Linked DNA regions of Homo sapiens: regions 1 and 2 are each linked to region 3. The links are contacts of gene promoters, found by promoter capture Hi-C in blood cells and fetal thymus (Javierre and others, 2016). All regions are on one chromosome and are shown on one strand. The core of a region is centred on a gene start or on the middle of the fragment in contact, and the rest is flanking DNA. Distances in the headings are between cores, read along the strand shown. Region 1 has its middle 860 kb from the start of LINC01676. Region 2 has its middle 830 kb from the start of LINC01676. Region 3 holds the start of NTNG1 (netrin G1).

Region 1 (2,967 bases), core at 12-2,511, 2.4 Mb after region 3:
ACCGAAAAGGAAAGGTCTTTGTTGAGGACTCCTAATTTCAGGACTCTCATGTGAATTCATGGTCTAAATTAGGTGAAATGAATTAGATTAAATACAAGAATCATTATTGAATACAACAATCAAAATATAAATTCTACAGTTCATGAGCTCTAAAATCACAAAGCACATAAAGATACAAAGAACAACAAACGTTTGGCCAGCAGAAAAGCAGCAGCAAACATAAAATATGTCAGACACAGATGCAAAGTAAATATGTCTGTCAAATTTTGTTTAAAGAAACAAAACATAGCTACTATTTTAAAAATAAAACAATGAAAAATAAAATGGCACACCATATTATGGATTAAAAAATATAAAAGTGTCTAAAAAAAGGAGATAGAAAAAAATAATCAAGGGAATTGGGAGAGTGAAAATACACCTTCATATGGGGGAGAAGATTTCAAGGGAAAAATAATATTCCAGGATAGATGAGGAATTTTCTCATATTTGGACATCCTAATGAATTCCAAACAGATTAAATAAAAGCAAATGTATATTATGGAAATGTAGGTGGCCAACAAGATATTTTCTAAAAAGACAAAACGTTGATTATCTAAGAAGGGAAGAAAGGACACTGATAGCCTAACTTTTTAGTGTGATAATGGAGGCCAAAATAAAATCATAAAAATATATTTGATAGGCTGTGACAAAATGACTCTGATATAGACTTGTATGCCAGCAAAACTGTCTTTCAGAAATGAGGTTAAATTTTTAACAGTTCAGATAAGCAAAAATTGAAAAAAGATTGCTACCACTAGATACAAAAGCTTGTAAAGAATGAATTTTAGTGCCTCTACCACCCCCCAGAAAAAAGATCCGAACGGAATTGTTGAAATGCAAAATATAAGTTAGTAAAGATATCAATAACTGTATTGGTCAATCAAAATATTAATTTATCAGATCTATCAAATTTAGTTAAAAAGCTAAGACAACTAAAACATGTGATATATTGAAATACACAGTATATCTAAGTTGGGGAAATTTGCAACTAGAAGGAGTTCAGAGAATTTCACAGATACATCATTGTTCTATTACCGAAGTCTAGATGGTGCGTATTTAATGTTAGCTCTCTTAACAAAACATTTCCTAATAAACATATAGGTTATACACATGTTGAGGTTGTGTAGCTAACAAATTTAAAATAATGTATTTTGTTAGTCTTAGCTGATCCTTTTTCCTGCTTCCTATTCTTAGAACCTTTGCTTCTTATTTTTGTTCCTAACAATCAATTGAAAAAAAAAATTAAAAAGCAGGTATAGGGGAGTCTGCTCAAGTAAAAATATTTCCATGGCTTTCTTACCAATATTTCACTTCTGTTGTAGGGTCAAAGACTTTTATTCTCATAACGCCGCGAGGAGACAATATATATTTTTTTAATTCACGCCGATGTGGAAATGACTTGTCATTTATCTTCTCCACAGAATGGGTTTGATTTAGAGAAGAAAAGCATGATTTTTCTAAATGTCTTAAAGGAAGTTAGAGACCAAAGGCAGTTAAGTAGTAGGAGGTGGGGCGGGTTAGAAGAGGGAGGAAGGGATAGAAAATGAAAACAATTTTGCCTAGGAGGCAAACTCTTTTCAAATGTTGGCCTGGAGATTACTTGATCTACAATCTTAAAAACCTGATAGCCACTGAACCTCAAAGCCGTGCATGCTAGGTTCTCAGGAATGAAGCTTGTATATTATCCTAATATAATCTTTGTCTCGGTCAAATAACAGAGAAACCCTACTTTTAATGCCTTGACTCAAAGAGAAATAATCTTTCCAATCAGTGTTTTTTCATAGCAGGTAATGTCATTGTATCACATAAGTACCAGGAGTATCAGTGATTCTCTTTGCATATTATAGACTGTTAAAGCATTCTTTGCTTGTCAAATCTAAATAGTGTCATAGTACTGTCACCACATATTATTAATTTACCTTTCAACAAGACAAAGGTACCATATTTACTAAACACAAAGCTAAACTGAGTTTTTTTTTTTTTTGCAACCCAGATAAATATATCACTGCCATTTAGCAATCATCTGTGTTCAGTTGAACTTTTTCCAGCACTACTAGAAAGTTAAAGGATGGTGAAAATAGAGAGACAGTTCACTGACTTCCCAAGCATATATCTATACCACTTTAATCTTGCACATAAAAGGTCAAGCATAAAATTATTTTCTTGGAGCAGCTGTCCTCAGAGATTTGAATTAACATAGATGGAGAGTACCACGGGGAAAAAAAAGTTAATTTTATCTTAATTGGATTAAGCCAGGTCCCATCCATACTGAGGGAATGAGGTTACAAAAGACTAGAAACTGCTAGGTTGACAGAAAGGGATTAATTCATGGGCTAGCGTCAGGATGTTGACTAATAACATATTGATCGTATCTGTAACATATGCAGAATGTCTGTCAGGAGCAGATGCACTTTGGAATTGAAGATGGCTAGGATATCTGACACGATCAAAGTCAGATTAATATTATTAAGGAGCTGCAAGTGAGCTGCCAATTACCTTAGCAATCACAGACATTTTCTACACGTGCCTGTGATTGACCGTCCTAAACAGTAGCAGTACTTGCTGCTTAGAGGGAAGTGACAGATTTGTGTAGCTGCTTCTCCCTCTGCCCCTTCTTTCCTTTAATGTGTTCCATCAGACATATGGAACGGTCACAGTTTAATCCCAGTGGAGCCTGCAGGTGGTATTGTCCTTGCATTGAAGAGTTATTAAATTCTTAAGGTCACCATAAAAAAGGCTCCATTAAATTGAGTTAATAAAAACATTGAGCAAAGGTTTGCAAAGAGCACAAATGTCAAAGCTATGGGAATTGGAATCTATCATAATATCAGACTAAAATAATAATTTAAATCATACTATAATATAAAGATAAAACTTCTGCATTATTTTAAAATATATGAAATGTTTGTACCTAATACACATGTGTAT
Region 2 (2,821 bases), core at 189-2,688, 2.4 Mb after region 3:
TCCCATTTTTTAAAAGTGATTATTAGTTAGCTTTTTATGTAGAAATGTAAAAGAGGCTTTATTATTATTTGCCATTCTTGACTCAATAGAGACTCATATATGACAGACATTAATGGGCCCTTCTCGCTTAAATTTTTTTTTGTTAATCACTTATTACTTGCTGTTTAAGTTTATTTTAGATAATGGAAATGATGTTAGACAAAACGCAAATTCGAATGATTTTCTTATTCAAGTTCAAAATGGGTCGTAAAGCAGCAGAGACCACTGGCAAGATCAACAATGCATTTGGCCCAAGAACTGCTGTCAAACATACAATGTAGTGATGGTTCAAGAAGTTTTTCACGCCGGGCGTGGTGGCTCACGCCTGTAATCCTAGCACTTTGGGAGGCCGAGGTAGGTGGATCACGAGGTCAGGAGATCGAGACCATCCCGGCTAACATGGTGAAACCCCGTCTCTACGAAAAATACAAAAAATTAGCCAGGTGTGGTGGCGGGCGCCTGTAGTCCCAGCTACTCGGGAGGCTGAGGCAGGAGAATGGCATGAACCAGGGAGGCGGAGCATGCAGTGAGCGTGATCGTGCCACTGCACTCCAGCCTGGGTGGCAGAGTGAGACTCTGCCTCAAAAAAAAAAAAAAAAAAAAAAAAAAAAAAAAAAAAAAAAAGTTTTTCAAAGGAGACCAGAGCCTTGAAGATGAGGAGCATGGTGGCTGGATATTGGAAGCTGACAATGACCAATTGAGAGCAATTATCAAAGCTGATTCTATTACAACTATAGGAGGAGTTGCTGAAGAACTCAGTGTTGACCATTCTATGGTCATTCAATATTTGAAGCAAATTGGATAGGTGAAAAAGTTTGATAAGTGGGTGCCTCATGAGCCGAGTGAAAATCAAAAGAATTGTCATTTTGAAGTGTCATCTTTCCTTATTCTATTCAACAACAATCAACCATTTCTCAATCACATTGTGATGTACGATGAAAAGTGGATTTTATATGGCAACTGCTGATGAAAAGCTCAGTGGTTGGACTGAGAAGAAGCTTCAAAGCACTTCCCAAAGCCAAACTTGCACCAAAAAAAAAGGTGATGTGACTATTTGGTGGTCTGCTGCCAGTCTGATTCTCTACAGCTTTCTGAATCCTGATGAAACCATTACATCTGACAAGTATGCTCAGCAAATTGATGAGATGTAATGAATACTCAATGCCTGCAGCCAGCATTGGTCATCAGAAGGGGCCAATTCTTCACAACAATGCCCGAACACACATTGCACAACGAATGCTTCAACAGTTGAAAGAATTAGCTATGAAGTTTTGCCTTATCTGTCATACTCACCTAACCTCTTGCAAACCTACTACCACTTCTTCAAGCGTCTCAACAACTTTTTTCAGGTAAAATGCTTCCACTTTCAGCAGGATGCAGAAAATGCTTTCCATGAATTTGTCAAATTCTGAAGCACAATTTTTTATGCTACAGGAATAAACATTTCTCATTGGCAAAAACGGGTTGATTGTAATGGTTTCTACTTTGATTAATAAAGATGTGTTTGAGCCTAGTTATAATGATTTAAATTTCATGGTCTAAAACCGCAATTACTTTTGCACCAACCTAATATAAGCTCCATCTGACAAACTCTGGGCCAAGATAAGAATAAAATAATATGTATTAATGATCTATTCTGTGGTATTTAAAGTCCTGAAGCTCCCCTGGTGGCCTGGCACCATTCTTTATAGAAAATGTACAGACAGATGAGTTGAACTTGATTTAACTGGTTACCAAGGGTGGTTTTGGCTGTATGACTAATAAGGTATTAAAAAGAAACAAGCACTCTCAGTAAGCTTTGCCTCAGTTCCCCTGACACCAAGATACACCTTCAAGGTTTCTGATCATGAGATGTAGCATTTTTCAAGAGAATGAGATATCTTGAAAATTTTTGCCTGAATGTCTGGGAACTCCATGATGTTTGCCTGTGTTTTCCTTCTCCTGTTTTATCATACACATTGTCATTATTAACATTTCACTTGAGTATACATTGTGTAGTCATATGAGTCCTTTCAATAATCCAAAATACACATATAATAATTGCTAAAATGCTATAGAAGTGATCCTTAGAATGTTTTTATTACATAAGTGAATCAATGAACTAATGAGTAAATAAAAGAAGTGTCAACTTAAATAAAAGAAGTGCACAAATGAGCTTGATTCAGTGATTTCATGGGGAAATTTGTTATTATTAGCATTTGGGTGATTAAAAATCTTTCTGCTTGTTTCAACAATCTCTCATCTACAAGAAAGATTATGTACAGGTTGAGTATCCATTATCTAAAATGCTTAGGACCAGAAATGTTTCAGATTCCAGGTTTTTTCAGATTTGGGAATATTTGCATATATGGCGTATCTTGTGGATGGAACCCAAATCTAAACACAAAACTCACTCGTGTTTCATATACAAGTAATACACATAGCCTAAGGGTAATTTTATACAATATTTTAAATAATTTTGTGTATGGAACAAAGTTTTGACTGTGTTTTGACTGTGACCTGCCACATAAGGTCAGGTGTGAGATTTTCCACTGGTGGTTTCGTGTCAGCACTCAACAACTGGAGCATTTCGGATTTTTTATTTCATATTAGAGATGTTCAACCTGTAAAAGTGATTTTTGTATTGATTTCCTAAGTTTTATTTATATGTTCAGGAGGATGCTGCAGTATTTTTTTTAATTTAGTACAAACCATGTAAAAATGTTTTAAGGCACATAAAAAGTAATATGAGCCATCTGTCTTTGCTGCTGTTTATGTAGGTTAGTTCTAGATGAAACCAGAA
Region 3 (2,700 bases), core at 198-2,697:
GGGTGAGAGAGGAGGACCGTCTACTCACTGGAAATCTGTACCTGATGCAACTATAGGAGCTCAACCTGCGACTTTTCCAAGTAAAGTTGCTTTAAAATCCCCGCTAGGAATTTTCTTCCCTTGCCCTGTAAGATGACAGCCTACTCTTAAGTGGATTTCTGAAGGAAAAAAAAAAAAAGTCCCCGGGTGAGGGTACTAAAATTAACAGCAGAGGGCGCAGTTTCTTTTTATATCTAAGTTTTTCCTTGTATGAATCACTTAATTGGTTATTTTAGGCCCAATAATATTCAGTATTATTTGTATTATATATAGATATCCACAGATCCATACAGGAGTGCAATTCAGTGTCCCTAGCCGAATCCATCAACCGATTAATATGATGCCAGTAAAGAATATGAGAGAATATTCCAAACAGCATCCCTACACCAAGTCTTCCTCTTTCAATTTCCCTTTCTCCCCAGCTGCACAACATGGGATAGTAATGTTTTAATCTAGCACCAATAAAGGCGATTAAAAGAAGGGACTTCAAAAGCTCTCGATGTGGCCACCAGATCCCCAAGGCCGGCAATAGGGCAAGTGTTTTTTTGTTTTTTTTGTTTGCTTTTCCCCAAACAAATATAATTGGCGAAAGAAAGAAAAAATAACGACAAGCCGCCTGAGCGATGTGTGTGGCCAGGTGTGCGTGAGAGAGGGAGAGCGCGGGGCCCCTGTCAGTCGGCGGATGGAGGCTCAGACCCCACGCCTGGGCTCCGGACACAACAAGAGGACGCATCACCGGCCCGGGGCGCACCCCCGGGAAGACTTGTGTGTGGGTGTGAGCGTGTGCCGCTGTGTGTGCGCGTAGGGCTCCGCGCGCTGCCTCCTCGGGGCGCTTTACAAAGTTCCTCGCCCACCCGGAGCCTTCCCTCCCGCCTGTGCATCGCAGCGGGTGGGGCGGGGGGCGGCGGGGGGTGGGGAAACCCGGGGGAGAGGGGCACGGGCGAGAGGCTCGGGTCGCAGTAGGAGAGGCGAGCCGCAGGCACTTACCGTGTGGCTCGTTTGCCCTTGCGCCGGGCGGGAGCCGAGCCGACGGCGCGGGGCGGCGGCCCTGCGCAGCCAGCCTGGTCCGCCTCGGGCGGCGGCCGCAGCAGCGGAGCCCGCGGGCGGCGTACGGGCGGAGGGCGGCAGCTCCCGCGGAGCCTCCTCCCCAGGCGGGAGCGGGCGGAGCGGGAGGGGTGGGCGTGAGGACCCGAGCCGCCGCCACCGCCGCAGCCCGGGGATTCCGATCGCGCCCGGCCGCCGGCGGGAGAGGACCCCGAGGACCGAGAACCCAGCGCCGGCCCGCCACTCCCCGCCGCTTAATTACCTTCGCCTCCGCCCCCGGGGGGAGCCTCCTGCAAGTCGCCCCCTCTCGGAGCCCGCACCCAGAGGGGGAATTCCTTCCCGTTGACGTCCTCTTCCGAAATGCAAAAGATCAGTGACTTTGACAGGTAGATGAGGGGGAGGGAGTAAGGGTGGGCGGAGAGGAAGAGAGGATGAGAAAGGTGCCTCTCCCTCCAAAAATATAGTGATATTAATAATGAGATCTCAGCCTTCGGAGGTCGTGCCAGCCCAGTCCCCTGCTCGCCGGCTCTCCTCCGCGCCTCCTCGCTCCGCTGCCTCTGACACTTCTCGCCTTAAACTTTTACTGAGGGATATTTTTTCTTTTTTCTATTTCTATTTCTTTTTTTTTTCCTCTTTTTTTTTTTTTCAAGCCGCAGGACGATTTTCTGGTTCCCGGGGATCAGAACCAGCGGCCAGGCGGTTCTATGCCGCTTGGCACCGCTTTCATTTTATTTCAGATGAAGACGTTGAGCTTAGTCAGAAGGGGCATAAATCAGGACAATTAGCATTGGCGCCAAGAAGATCCTCTAATACCAATTTCGCCCGGGTTTCCTTCGCGCATTCCTCCACTCAAGTCAGAAATGTCACTGCACATAGCACTGATGGCAGTGAGACGCGACGCACCCAAAGTCCGTTTGATGAAATATACATGGCCCACGACGCTTCTGGATTGCGGCTCCCGGACTCCCCGCCCCCACCAGCGGCTCCCGGCCGGGACCCTGCTCCGAGCGGGCAGCGAGCTCCTGGCAAACTTAGGGGCCAGTGCCAATTAAAGAGTGAGCGCGAGAGCCGGAAAGAGGAGCGGCAAAGAAGCAAGCCCGGGGAAGCCGCAGCCCTCGGAGGGGTGGCATGTACGTTTCACTTAAAAAGCAGATCTTCTTCTGCAACTGCCAGCAAGTGGAAGGATAGCAAACCTTATACTACCTCGAGACCTGTGCGCTCCGAGCGGTCCTAACTCCGTCCCGCTCGCTGTTGCTGTTGCTGGTGCTGCTCCGGCTGCAGCTGCTGCCGCTCCACGACCTCGGGGCGCTGAGGCAACAGGGCCCCCTCCCTCTACTCCCCATCCCCCCCGGCTCCTCCACAGAAGCGCCGTTTCCAGTAACTCCTCGTGTACCTCCCACTTCTGCCGCCGTCCATCCCACCCCTCTCTCTTCTGTCCCCTCCCCAAACCGTTCCCAAGCACACCCTTCGCCGCTGGAAGTGATCACAATGTTGTTTTTCAACAAGCACTTCCTTTGCCCGGAGGCCCCTACAGCCCTAGACTGGAAACTCCTCCTTTAGAAATTCATTCCCCTTTAAAAAGTTGAAGTTCAAGGGAGAGCTGCGCATTTCAGGCTT

The links. Contacts are between HindIII fragments. The CHiCAGO score rates a contact against its expected background, and 5 or more counts as called.
Region 1: a fragment that was not itself captured here is called in contact with the fragment with the promoter of NTNG1 in region 3 in 1 of 17 cell types (total B cells); the score reaches 9.4 in total B cells.
Region 2: a contact is called between a fragment that was not itself captured here and the fragment with the promoter of NTNG1 in region 3, in 4 of 17 cell types (total B cells, naive B cells, endothelial precursors and 1 more). The highest score is 16.0, in total B cells.

What each region holds. Positions count from the first base shown.
Region 1 is chr1:104,761,789-104,764,755 of GRCh38, reverse strand. No RefSeq gene overlaps it. Among named protein-coding and RNA genes, the nearest start is that of LINC01676, 860 kb to the left of the region's middle. The HindIII fragment of the contact is 906 bases long and covers 809-1,714 here.
Region 2 is chr1:104,784,759-104,787,579 of GRCh38, reverse strand. No RefSeq gene overlaps it. Among named protein-coding and RNA genes, the nearest start is that of LINC01676, 830 kb to the left of the region's middle. The HindIII fragment of the contact is 798 bases long and covers 1,040-1,837 here.
Region 3 is chr1:107,139,786-107,142,485 of GRCh38, reverse strand. NTNG1 (netrin G1) reads right to left here and starts at 1,447. Exons shown (of 8, transcript NM_001113226.3): 1 at 1,346-1,447. RefSeq lists silencers at 753-1,032, 1,053-1,342 and an enhancer at 1,276-1,807. The HindIII fragment of the contact is 6,022 bases long and covers 1-2,700 here.